2 separate regions of the Homo sapiens genome follow, and region 1 is linked to region 2. The links are contacts of gene promoters, found by promoter capture Hi-C in human tissues and cell types (Jung and others, 2019). All regions are on one chromosome and are shown on one strand. The core of a region is centred on a gene start or on the middle of the fragment in contact, and the rest is flanking DNA. Distances in the headings are between cores, read along the strand shown.

Region 1 (6,091 bases), core at 939-3,438, 1.2 Mb before region 2:
TGGCAGGCACCTGTAGTCCCAGCTATCTGGGAGGCTGAGGTGGGAGAATCACTTGAACCCAGGAGGTGGAGGTTGTAGGGAGCTGAGATCACACCACTGCACTCCAGTCTGGGCCACAGAGTGAGACCTGTCCCCCAAAAACAGAAAACAAAAATTAGCTCAGCATAGTGGCTCATGCCTGTAATCCCAGGTACTCCAGAGACTGAGGTTGATCACTTGAGCCTGGGAGGTCGAGGCTGCAATGAGCCGTGATTACACCACTGCACTCCAGCCTGGGCAACAGAGTGAGACCCTGTCGTTAAATACATATTTATGTGTCTAAATAAACACAAGTACCCTGGAATCTTGCCATTTCCATCAAATCTGAACTTTGGCTGTGTAGGGGTGAAGAGAAAGCTTCCTTATTGCCCTCTGAAGTTTCACTAAAAATTACTGAGAAAAGGCAGATTAATAAGAGAAAAGGAATACGAATGTATTTGATCATAGTGTTACCTGACAAGCCTTCAGAATGAAGATCCAGAGATACAGGGGAAACTGTGTTTTTGTTTTGTTTTGTTTTGAGACGGAGTCTGGCTCTGTTCCCTGGGCTGGAGTGTAGGGGCGATCTTGGCTCACAGCAGCCTCAGCTTCCCAAGCAGCTGGGATTACAGGTGCCCGCCACCATGCCTGATTAATGAAAAGTGTCTTATGCTTAGGTTCAGCAAAGTTTGAACACCCAGGTAGAAATTTGATTGGACAAAAAGGGTTTGTCGTGGTTCATACTTGTAATCCTGACACTTTGGGAGGCTGAGGCGGGTGGATCACTTGAGGCCAGGAGTTTGAGACCAGCCTGAGCAACATGGAAAAACCCCATCTCTACTAAAAATACAAAAATTAGCTGGGCATGGTGCATCTGTAATCCCAGCTACTTGGTTGGCTGAGAATCGCTTGAACCTGGGAGGCCAAGGTTGCAGCGAGTTGAGATCTTGCCACTGCACTCCAGTGTTGCCTGGACAACAGAGCAAGACAAAAAAAAAAAAAAAAAAAAAAAGCCGGGGGGGTCGTCTAATACTAATAGGCTGAGTGGGGAAACCCAGCAAGGCCTATCTGTCTAGATTCTTCTTGGAGTCTCAGGAATGCATGCTCAGAGAGGCCAAGAAGAATCTAGATAGATAGGCCTTGTGTGGGGCAGAAACTTCTTTGAAACGGGGGTCTTATGACCTACAGTCAATAGGGTAGATCAGATAATTTCTTCTTTTTTTGAGACAGCACTTTGGGAGACCAAGACGGGAGGACGGCTTGAGCCCAGGAGTTGGGGATCAGCCTGGGCTCAGCACAGTGAGATCTCATTTCTACAGGAAAAAAAAATATAATTATGTGTGTGTGTGTGTGTGTGTGTGTGTGTATATATACATACAATCTTTTTTTTTTTTTTGAGACGGAGCTTTACTCTGTCACCCCGGCTGGAGTGCAGTGGCATGATCTCAGCTCACTGCAACCTCTGCGTCCTGGGTTTAAGCAATTCTCCTGCCCCAGCCTCCCGAGTAGCTGGGACTATAGGCGCCCGCCACCACGCCCGGCTATTTTTTGTATTTTTAGTAGAGACAGTTTCACCATGTTGGCTAGGCTGGTCTCGAACTCATGACCTCAGGTGATCCACCCGCCTCGGCCTCCCAAAGTGCTGGGATTACAGGCGTGAGCCACCGCGCCCGGCCAGAAAAATATTTTTAAATTAGAAGGGCCTGGTGAATGACACTGCTACTCAGGAGGCCGAGGCAGGAGGATCGCTTGAACCTGGGAGGTCGAGGCTACAGTGAGCTGTGATCGCACCACTGCACTCCAGCCTGGGCGACAGACCAAGATCTTGTCTCAAAAAAAAAAAAAAATTGTTATGGAGTATATTTTCCAAGGCAGAGTGGATGAAGTTAGAAGCACCGAATAAATACAGGACTCTGAGATCCGTATAACCTGGGCGCCCCGTGGAACCCAGGAGCCTCACAGGGGCACACAAGCGCACCCAGAGCGCGCCGTCCTGCTCCCAAGGGGCGCCGACTGCGCGCGCAGCCCGCGGACCGCGAAACTGCTGCTTAACGGTCGGCCCCGCCCAGTTGGCCGCGCAAGTTCTCAAAGAGGGCGGGGCCGGGAGCACGCGTCACAACACACTCGTCCGCGGGAGCGCAGCTGGCCAGGGGCGGGGTCGGCGCATGCGCAGAGGGTGCGAGCTTGAAGGCGGGAAAATACGGAATGGAGCGACAGGGAGTACGCGGCGCTTGTTTCCTTCTCGCGCGTGGGGCGGGCGGACAGATAGGCAGGGAACGGCTGCGATCCCAGCCATCTCCAGCGGACCCGAGCCCGGCCGCTTGTCCTTTGCCATTGGGGCTCCCTCTCATCAGGCCTGGCCTCAAATTTCCTGACTGACTGAACCCGGCCCTGACTGACGCACTGACGGGTCTGATTTCCACACATGGCGCGTGGCCGGAACGGAGTAGAGAAAGGCACAAACACCCACGCACCGCACCCGTTTCTTTCATTTCTTTTTTTTTTTTTTTTTGAGACGAAGTATCACTCTGTCGCCCAGTCTGGAGTGCAGTGGCGTGATCTCGGCTCACTGCAACCTCTGCCTCCCGGGTTCAAGTGATTCTCCTTCCTCAGCCTCCCGAGTAGCTGGGATTACAGGCACGCACCACCACGTCAGCTAATTTTTGTATTTTTAGTAGAGACGGGGTTTCACCATATTGCTCAGGCTGTTCTCGCACTCCTGACCTCGTGATCCGCCCGCCTCCGCCTCCCAAAGTGCTGGGATTACAGGCGTGAGCCACCGCGCCCGGCCTCATCTCTTTTCTCCTACCTCTTCTCCTTTCTCGAAGGACTCCAGCCAACACACATACCAGTTAGGAGCCCAGGTCCTCCAGTTACATTCCCACAGCCCTGCCCTCACCCGGCCCCTCTAGGTCTGGTGTCCTGGTGTCCCCTAGGGACAGAGTGTCCTTTCACCCCATGCCCCTGCCCTCATGGCACCTGCCCCAGCCCTGCCCGTCTTTCCTGCGGGTCCCCACCGTCCCGCAGCAGCACATCGAGGTGACCAGGGTTGAAGGGTCGGCAGGAGGGCGATCTGTTCACTCCTCATCCTCCCTCCTTGGCCTCCGTCCTGACTGTGCTTGCAGGTGGACGTGCCCCATGTGAAATGCAAAGACCAGGAACCGCAGCCCTTGGGGGAGAGCAAGGAGCATCCGCGGTGGGAAGAGAACTGCGAGGAGGAAGCTGGTGGAGGGCCAGCTAGGTGAGGAAGATCCCAGCCCTATGGGTCTACACAGGCCCCTGGGTCCCTCTCATTCACCCTTTTCTTCCACAAGGCTATGCCAGTGTCTGCTGCTTTTTTTTTCCCTCCTAACACAGCGTCTTGCTTTGTCACCACGCAGTGGCATGATCACGGCTCACTGCAACCTCCACCTCCCAGACTCAAGTGATCCTCCCACCTCAGCCTCCGAAATGGCTGGGACTAGAGGCGGGCCAGAATGTCGGGCCAATTTATTAAAAAATATTGGCCAGGTGCAGTGGTTCACACCTGTAATCCCAACACTTTGGGAGGCCAAGGCGGGTGGATCACCTAAGGTCGGGAGTTTGAGACCAGCCTGACAAACATGGAGAAACCCCGTCTCTACTAAAAATACAAAATTAGCTGGGCATAGTGGCACATGCCTGTAATCCCAGCTACTCAGGAGGCTGAGGCAGGAGAATCGCTTGAACCCAGGAGGTGGAGGTTGCAGTGAGCTGAGATGGCGCCATTGCACTCCAGCCTGGGCAAAAAGACCGAAACGCTGTCTCAAAAAAAAAAAAAAAAAGCCAGGAATGGTGGCTTATGCCTGTAATCCTAGCACTTTGGGAGGCCGAGGGGGGTGGATCAAAAGGTCAAGAGATGGAGACCATCCTGGCTAACATGATGAAACCCCGTCTCTACTAAAAATACAGAAGTTAGCTGGGTGTTGTGGTGCACGCCTGTAGTCCCAGCTACTCGGGAGGCTAAGGCAGGAGAATCGCTTGAACCCCAGAGGCAGAGGTTGTAGTGAGCCGAGATCATGCCACTGCATGCCAGCCTGGTGACAGAGTGAGACTCCGTCTCAAAAAAAAGAAAAAAGAAAAATTTAGTAGGCCGGGCACGGTGGCTTACGCCTGTAATCCCAGCACTTTGGGAGGCCAAGGCAGGCAGATCATGAGGTCAGGAGTTTGAGACTAGCCTGGCCAATATGGTGAAACCCTGTGTCTACAAAAATTAGCCAGGCATGGTGACAGACACTTGTAATCCCAGCTACTCAGAAGGCTGAGGCAGGAGAATTGCTTTAACCTGGGAGGCAGAGATTGCAGTAAGCCAAGATTGTGCCATTGCATTCCAGCCTTGGTGACAGAGCAAGACTCTGTCTCAAAAAAAAAAAAAAAAAGTATATATATAGTAGAGGCTGGGCGCAGTGGCTCACGCCTGTAATCCCAGCACTTTGGGAGGCTGGCGCTGGCAGATAACTTGAGGTCAGGATTTCGAGACCAGCCTGGCCCACATGGTGAAACTCCGTCTCTACTAAAAACACAAAAATCAGCCAGGCGTGGTGGTGCATGCATGTAGTCCTGGCTATTCAGGAGGCCAAGGCAGGAGGATCCCTTGAGCCCAGGAGTTTGAGACCAGCCTGGGCAACAGAGGGAGACATATCTCTCTGAAAAAAAAGAAAGAAAGAAAGAAAGAAATGAGCGTGGTGTGGTGCGGTTGCACACACCTGTGGCCCTAGCTACTTGGAAGGCTGAGGTGGGAGGACCACTTGAGCCTGGGAGGTCGAGGCTGCAGTGAGACGTGATTGCTTCACTGCACTGGAAGAGCAAGACCCTGTCTCAAAAATAAATAAGTGAATAATGTGATTTCAACTGGTGGCAAGTAAGTGGAATGAAGAAACAAAATATAGTAAGGAGCAAGTAGAGTGACAGGGACCTTAGAGCAGTTGGAGAACTCTGAAGAGGTCACATGAGAAGAGGCCAGCCAGGAGGCATTCTGGGCCCAAACCTTCCACGCAGAGGGGGCCGCAAGTATGAAGTCCCTCAGGTAGGAATAAGCTTGATGTGTTCTCAAAAGAGCAAGAAGGAGGCTCATGTTGGCCGGGCGCAGTGGCTCAACCTGTAATCCTAGGACTTTGGGAGGCCGAGGCAGGCGGATCACGAGGTCAGGAGTTCGAGACCAGCCTGGCCAACATAGTGAAACCCTGTTTCTACTAAAAATACAAAAAATTAGCCAGGCGTGGTGGCGCATGCCTTTAATCCCAGCTACTCCGGAGCCTGAGGCAGGAGAATTGCTTGAACCTGGGAGGCAGAGGTTGCAGTGAGCCAAGATAGCACCATTGCACTCCATCCTGGGTGACAGAGTGAGACCCTGTCTCGAGGAAAAAAAAAAAAAAAAAGGCTGATATGGCAGTATTGTGATTGGCAGCAGGGACACTCCTGTCCTCCAGACAGACATGCTCATACCCTCCTGCTGTTTGCATCTGACCAAACACCAACAGGGAAGAGATCATGGTGCTGGGAGACCTTTCCCCTGTGGGCAGCCAGCCTGGAATGGGGAGCCAGGGAAGGTGTCCTTGTAGAAGAGATGTTGAAGCAGAAAGTGTGGGCAGGGTGGGGAAGGAGGGGTTGAGAGAAGAGCTCGTGCGAAGTCCCTGCTCGTGGCATTCGGGGGAGCTAAAGGAAGGCCAGTGTGGCTAGGCGAGCGAGTGGGGTACAGGGGTGAGTGCAAGGGGAGGGCTGCAGAAGGGGCCAGGTTATGAGGCATTTTGTGGGCTACAGACTTTATCCTAGAGGTTTTTTCAGTAACAGCTTTGAGATATAATTCCCATAGCATACGGTTCACCTTTTTTTTTTTTTTTTTTGAGATGGAGTCTCGCTCTGTTGCCCAGGCTGGAGTGAGGGGGCATGATCTTGGCTCACTGCAACCTCCCCCTCCCAGATTCAAGCAATTCTCCTGCCTTAGCCTCCCGAGTAGCTGGGACTACAAGCATGTGCCACCAGGCCTGGCTTTTTTTTTATATATTTTTGGTAGAGACGGGGTTTCACCGTGTTAGCCAGGATGGTCTCAATCTCC
Region 2 (5,428 bases), core at 2,173-4,672:
GATAATATGGTTTGGCTCTTTGTCACCACCCAAATCTAATCTTCAACTGTAATCCCCATAATCCCCATGTATCAAGGGAAGGACCTGTGGGAGGTGACTGGATCATGGGGGCGGTTTCCCCCACGCTGTTCTTGTGATAGTGGGTTCTCATGAAATCTGACGGTTTTATAAGTGTTTGACAGTTCCTCTTTCACATGCTGTCTTGCCTGCCACCATGTAAGAAGTGCCTGCTTCCCCTTCCGCCACAATTGTAAGTTTCCTGAGGCCTCCCCAGCCATGAGGAACTGTGAGTCAATTAAACCTCTTTTCTGGTAGTTCTTTATAGCAGTGTGAAAATGGACTAATACAACTGCCTTAACACCAAAACTAGACAGACATTACAGACATATCTCCACCATGTGAGGGCATAACAGGAAGAATGCCATCTGCAAATCAAGAAAGAGGCCCAGGCTGGGCACGGTGGCTCACACCTGTAATCCCAGCACTTTGGGAGGCCGAGGTGGGCAGATCATGAGGTCAGGAGATCGAGACCATCTTGGCTAACATGGTGAAACACCGTCTCTACTAAAAATACAAAAAATTAGCTGGGGTGGTGGCATGTGCCTGTAGTCCCAGCTACTTGGGAAGCTGAGGCAGGAGAATCACTTGAACCCAGGAGGCGGAGGTTGCAGTGAGCTGAGATCATGCCACTGTTCTCCAGCCTGGGCAACAGAGCAAGACTCCATCTCAAAAATAAAAAATAAAAAAAAAAAGAGTCCTTTAGTAGACAACTGACCTGCTGCTTGAAACTGAATTCTCAGCCTTTATAGCTTTGAGAAATGAATATCTGTTGTGTAAGGCATGCAGTCTATGGTAAATTTGTTATAGCAACCCAAAGGACTAAGTTAGGAAGGGTCTTTCTCTACCACACATCAAGGCTTTGAAGACTATAGTAATCAGGAGAGTATGATATTAGCAGACTGATGGATACATAAACCAATGAAAAATGGCAAATTCTGGAACAAGAGCATCTACTTAAGGTACAAGAACCTATGACACAGCAGGTATTGCCAGGCAGTGATACAAATGAGGGACACTTCAACAGAAATGATGGAGACAAATGGTTACCTACAGGAGAATAATCCATCTTCTGCCCAGCATCTCCATATACAATGATCAACTAACTATAGACTTTCCAGTTTTCATTAATTTTTACTCAGTTTGTTACCTCAGCTTCCATTTTGAGTGTGGTTTCGTTTTTCCATACCAAAAAAGGGGTTTTATGACCCTTGACACAGTTTCTAGTTCTCTATCTTCTCCCAGTTCTTCAATTTGGTTGATCCATATGCATCCCTTATACCATCATCTCCTTTCACCACCTCCCTATGGGTGCAGAGTGTGTCAAGTCAGGTCCTCCTATCACCTGGAACATCCCCCATCACCATGCTGCTCACCGAAGTGCTCAATAACCATGATCCCAGGAGACACTACATTGTTAGCTTTTCAGGTTCTTGCACCACCTCAGTGGAGTTGGTTTTCCTGTCCTTAGGGATAGTTTTCTCCCTTCATTAGTCTGAGAACATCAGAAGGGAAGAATCATTTCAGTCCTGTCCCCTTAATACCACCATCCAATTGGCTGACCAGCCATATATCCCCAAGGAAGGGATGGGGGAAGAAAAGCTGAGTGTTCTAAGGAAGTAGCTTATTGAGGAAGGGTATACCAGGAGACTCCTCCCACTACAGGGCATCATGCTGCTTCCCTACAAGGTCCCACCATCTCCACCTCAGGGTGTCCTCTGGGAGGAGTGACAAAGGGACTGATATTCACTTGACACTACAAGAGACTTGGCAGCTGTGGGCATCTTGGGGTGGCCCCAGGCAGCTCTGAAACCCAGGACCAGGAAACCATAGAGGATGGGCTGGGGACTCATCACTCTGTAACGTTTCCAAAGAGGAAACTTAATCCAAAGACATTCTCAAAAGGTGTCTCTGTCTAGGGATGATGAAGGGAGGACAGTAACAAAGATTTTATTTATTAATATTCATTTTTTTTACAGCGAAATGTCTGGTGGTTTTTCTCTGCTTCCTCTCATGTGAAATGTTCACAAACACAAAACCTTTTACAAAGAGCCATATATTGCTATGTATAAACAAAATGACAATTAAAATACTAGCCTCTGTTTGAAAAATAAACTGGGGGACAAGGAGTTCATAAAGTTGCTGTGAATTGAGGAGAGAAAGCCTGAGGAAGGCTCTGGAAGCCAAGGGATTTTCTGTCGGCCCTAGGAGGAGTTAGGATGAGAGAACACAGTGGTGGACTTGAGACCCTGCTGCCCACATCTTTGGAAGACTCGAAGGCGAACGGGTCACCCTTGGGAAGAAAGAAGGGACAGGGGACCACACAGACCACAACTCCTCCCACACACAAACCCCACACACGAGTCTGCCTGGTGACCTGTCATCACCGTGCAGCCTCCTCACCGGGTTCACAGAACTGCGAGCCAGGCTGGAGGCGAGATTGCAGTTAGATATTAACCAGGTGCCCTCAGCCCCGCTGCCTCGCGGGGCCGCCTCCCCAAGAGTCAGGCCACAGCAGATGCTGACCGCCGGCTTCGCCATTGTGCTTGGGGATGAGATCTCTGAGAGTTGCTCAAGAGTCGCCTGAGTTCTTTCTCAGATCCTGAATTCCAGCGGAAAGGCTGGCGCCAACCAGGCTGAAGACCCCACAAGGGAACCCACTCAGCAGAAGAATGCGGTTTCTTCACCTCCAGTCCCAAGAGTCACCCCTCACTTCCCCACCATCCAGCGACCCCACGCCCCAGCCGCCCCTGTCCACACCCCTAAACACCCCATCCCCAAACCTCTCAGGAAGGCGGATCTGGGGTGTCCTCCCCTCTCCCCCTATTAAACTGTTTCTGCTGCAGCCCTCGGCGTCTCGGTGCAGTGACTCGGGCCGCGAACCTGTGCCGGTTACAGCCGCACAATCTGGGGAGACGCAGGACTGCGGGCGCGGAGCTGCCCAGACAGGCCTCCAGGGCCAGGGCCGCAGTGGCCGCGCAGGGACGGGACAGGACGCCCGGGGTCCCGGCTGCCGCCCCAGCCCCATCGTGCGGCCGAGGGAACCGAGGGCCGAGCTGCGCCAGGGTGTCGCCGGCGGGGAAGACCTGGTGCCACCACAGCCGGTTCCGGCCGGTTCCAACCAGTCTCTCCTCTCACGCGTCGGGACACCAGACCTCACACACTCACCATTTCCCGGCTTCCGGCGTCCAGGTTCCTCCCTCTGCCTCCCGCTGTCAGTGCGGGTCCCAGCGAGACAGAAGCTGCCACAGACGTTCCAGGGCGTCTCTCAGTGACAGAACCCGGAGCCCAGTGCAGGGGCGTGGAGAAGACTCGGCGGGCTCTTTGAACCTTGCACCCTCCTCCGGTCAGTGCGCCTGATTGACAGTTCTCACGACCCCGCCCCGCGGCCCTGATTGGATAGTGCGCCAGGTCCCTCCCCCGGGCACTGAGTAACGGAAGAAGCGATCTCGGGCAGCGGAGTGGAACCTGATAAACAGATTCCAGACAGGCCTTGAGAGGACTAGCTTCCTCCCTGCGCTGTGACCTGACCCCCTCCCAGGGGACATTTGCATTTAGGCAGTATGTCCTGACCTTCCTCCTTTTTCCTCTTGGACAGGGACCCACAAGTCTGTGCAGGAAATTCCAGACTCACTGTCCAGTGGAGCTATCCCCTGATTTGAGAGCAGGAAGGGAGCCCAGGCCACACTGCAGCAGAAGGGAGGGGCTGATGTCCTCCAGGAATCAGGAGTTTTGGATGAGGCTGTTGGCTGCACAGGCCAAGCCTTTCTCCCACCTTATGTCTCAATCTACTAATTTTCAGTGCAGAATATAAAAACACCCCAACAAAGCCGGGCGTGGTGGCTCACACCTGTAATCCCAGCACTTTGGGAGGCTGAGGCAGGTGGATCACCTGAGGTCAGAAATTCGAGACCAGTCTGGCCAACATGGTGAAATCCCGTCTCTAAAATACAAAGATTAGCCGGATGTGGTGGCGCACGCCTGTAGTCCCAGCTACTCAGGAGGCTGAGACAGAGGAATCACTTGAACCTGGAAGGCAGAGGCTGCAGTGAGAGAGTGGGCGAGACAGAGGGAGACTCCGTCTCAAAAAAAAAAAAAAAGAAAAAAGAAAAAAGAAATAAATAAAATTGTTAAATGTGTGGAAAAACTGGAATTATATGGCGGCAATATTTTATAAAGCAAAAACTTGAACTAGCTCAGATAAGCAGCCTGCTGCATCCACACACAGTTCACAAGTCAACCACTTTCAGGAGGCCAAACATATTCCAAAGCTTGGAGGCCAGACGATAATTCCTGAAATGGAGCCCTAGGGTGGATCAGAACCTGGGGATGAGTCAGGGGCACTAATGGATTTAACTCTGGGAGTTCAATTTGCCCTCCTGTCTCCTAAACACAGCGTGGAAATGCTCCTTCCATCAAGCCTATAAATGTTATTGAATTAAATGCTTCAATCAAAGGCTGAGACATTAGACTTTGAATTTGAAAACATTCATCTTCATATTTTTATGAAGAATACCAGATATAAAAGCATTATGAGGCCAGGCACCGTGGCTCATGCCTGCAATCCCACCACTTTGGGAGGCTGAGGTGGGTGGATTGCTTGAGCTCAGGAGCTCAAGACCGGCCTGGGCAATGTGGTGAAACCCCCATCTCTATTTAAAAACAAACAAAAAAAAAGCGTTATTAACTGGGAGCTGGCACCCATGGTGATACGAAGAAAAAGAGGTTTAATTGACTCACAGTTCAGCATGGCTGGGGAGGCCTCACAATCATGGTGGAAGGCAAAGGAGGAGCAAAAGCAAATGTTACATGGCGGCAGGCAAGAGAGCGTGTGCAGGGGAACTGCCCTTTATAAAGCCATCGGATCTCATGAGACTTACTCACCCAAATCTCATTTTGAATTGCAGCTCCCATAATCCCCACATGTCATGGGAGTGATCCAGTGGGAGGTAATTGAATCATGGAGGCGGTTTTCCCATGCTGTTCTCGTGATAGTGAATAAGTCTCATGAAATCTGATGGCTTTATAAAGGGCAGTTTCCCTGTACATGCTCTCTTGCCTGCCGCCATGTAACATTTGCCTTTGCTCCTCCTTAGCCTTCCACCAACACCTGACCAAATGGATATGACATCTACAGAACTTTCCACCCAAAACCAACAGATTATACATTCTTCTCCTCACCACATGGCACATACTCTAAAATCAGTAACATAATCAGACATAAAATAACCCTCAGCAAATTAAAAAAACAAGCAAACAAAATCATACCAACTGCACTCTCAGACCACAGTGCAATAAAAATAGAAATCAAGACTAAGAAAATCTCCCCAAACCATACAATTATATCAAAATTAAATGACCTGGTTCAGAA

What was found. The method cuts DNA at HindIII sites, captures the fragments that hold promoters and counts their contacts. A contact is called where the count stands out against the background at its distance.
Region 1: the fragment with the promoter of SYCE2 here is called in contact with the fragment with the promoter of ZNF441 in region 2 in 1 of the 25 tissues and cell types used here (stomach).

The regions. Positions count from the first base shown.
Region 1 is chr19:12,915,390-12,921,480 of GRCh38, reverse strand. It overlaps SYCE2 (synaptonemal complex central element protein 2), which reads left to right and starts at 2,188. Exons shown (of 6, transcript NM_001105578.2): 1 at 2,188-2,238; 2 at 3,144-3,259. The coding sequence starts at 2,224. It overlaps MIR5695 (microRNA 5695), which reads right to left and starts at 1,161; the gene lies at 1,077-1,161. RefSeq lists an enhancer at 2,369-2,508. The HindIII fragment of the contact is 14,742 bases long and covers 1-6,091 here.
Region 2 is chr19:11,764,994-11,770,421 of GRCh38, reverse strand. ZNF441 (zinc finger protein 441) reads right to left here and starts at 3,422. Exons shown (of 4, transcript NM_152355.3): 1 at 3,226-3,422. The coding sequence starts at 3,228. RefSeq lists silencers at 2,392-2,501, 2,952-3,091 and an enhancer at 3,162-3,261. The HindIII fragment of the contact is 15,674 bases long and covers 1-5,428 here.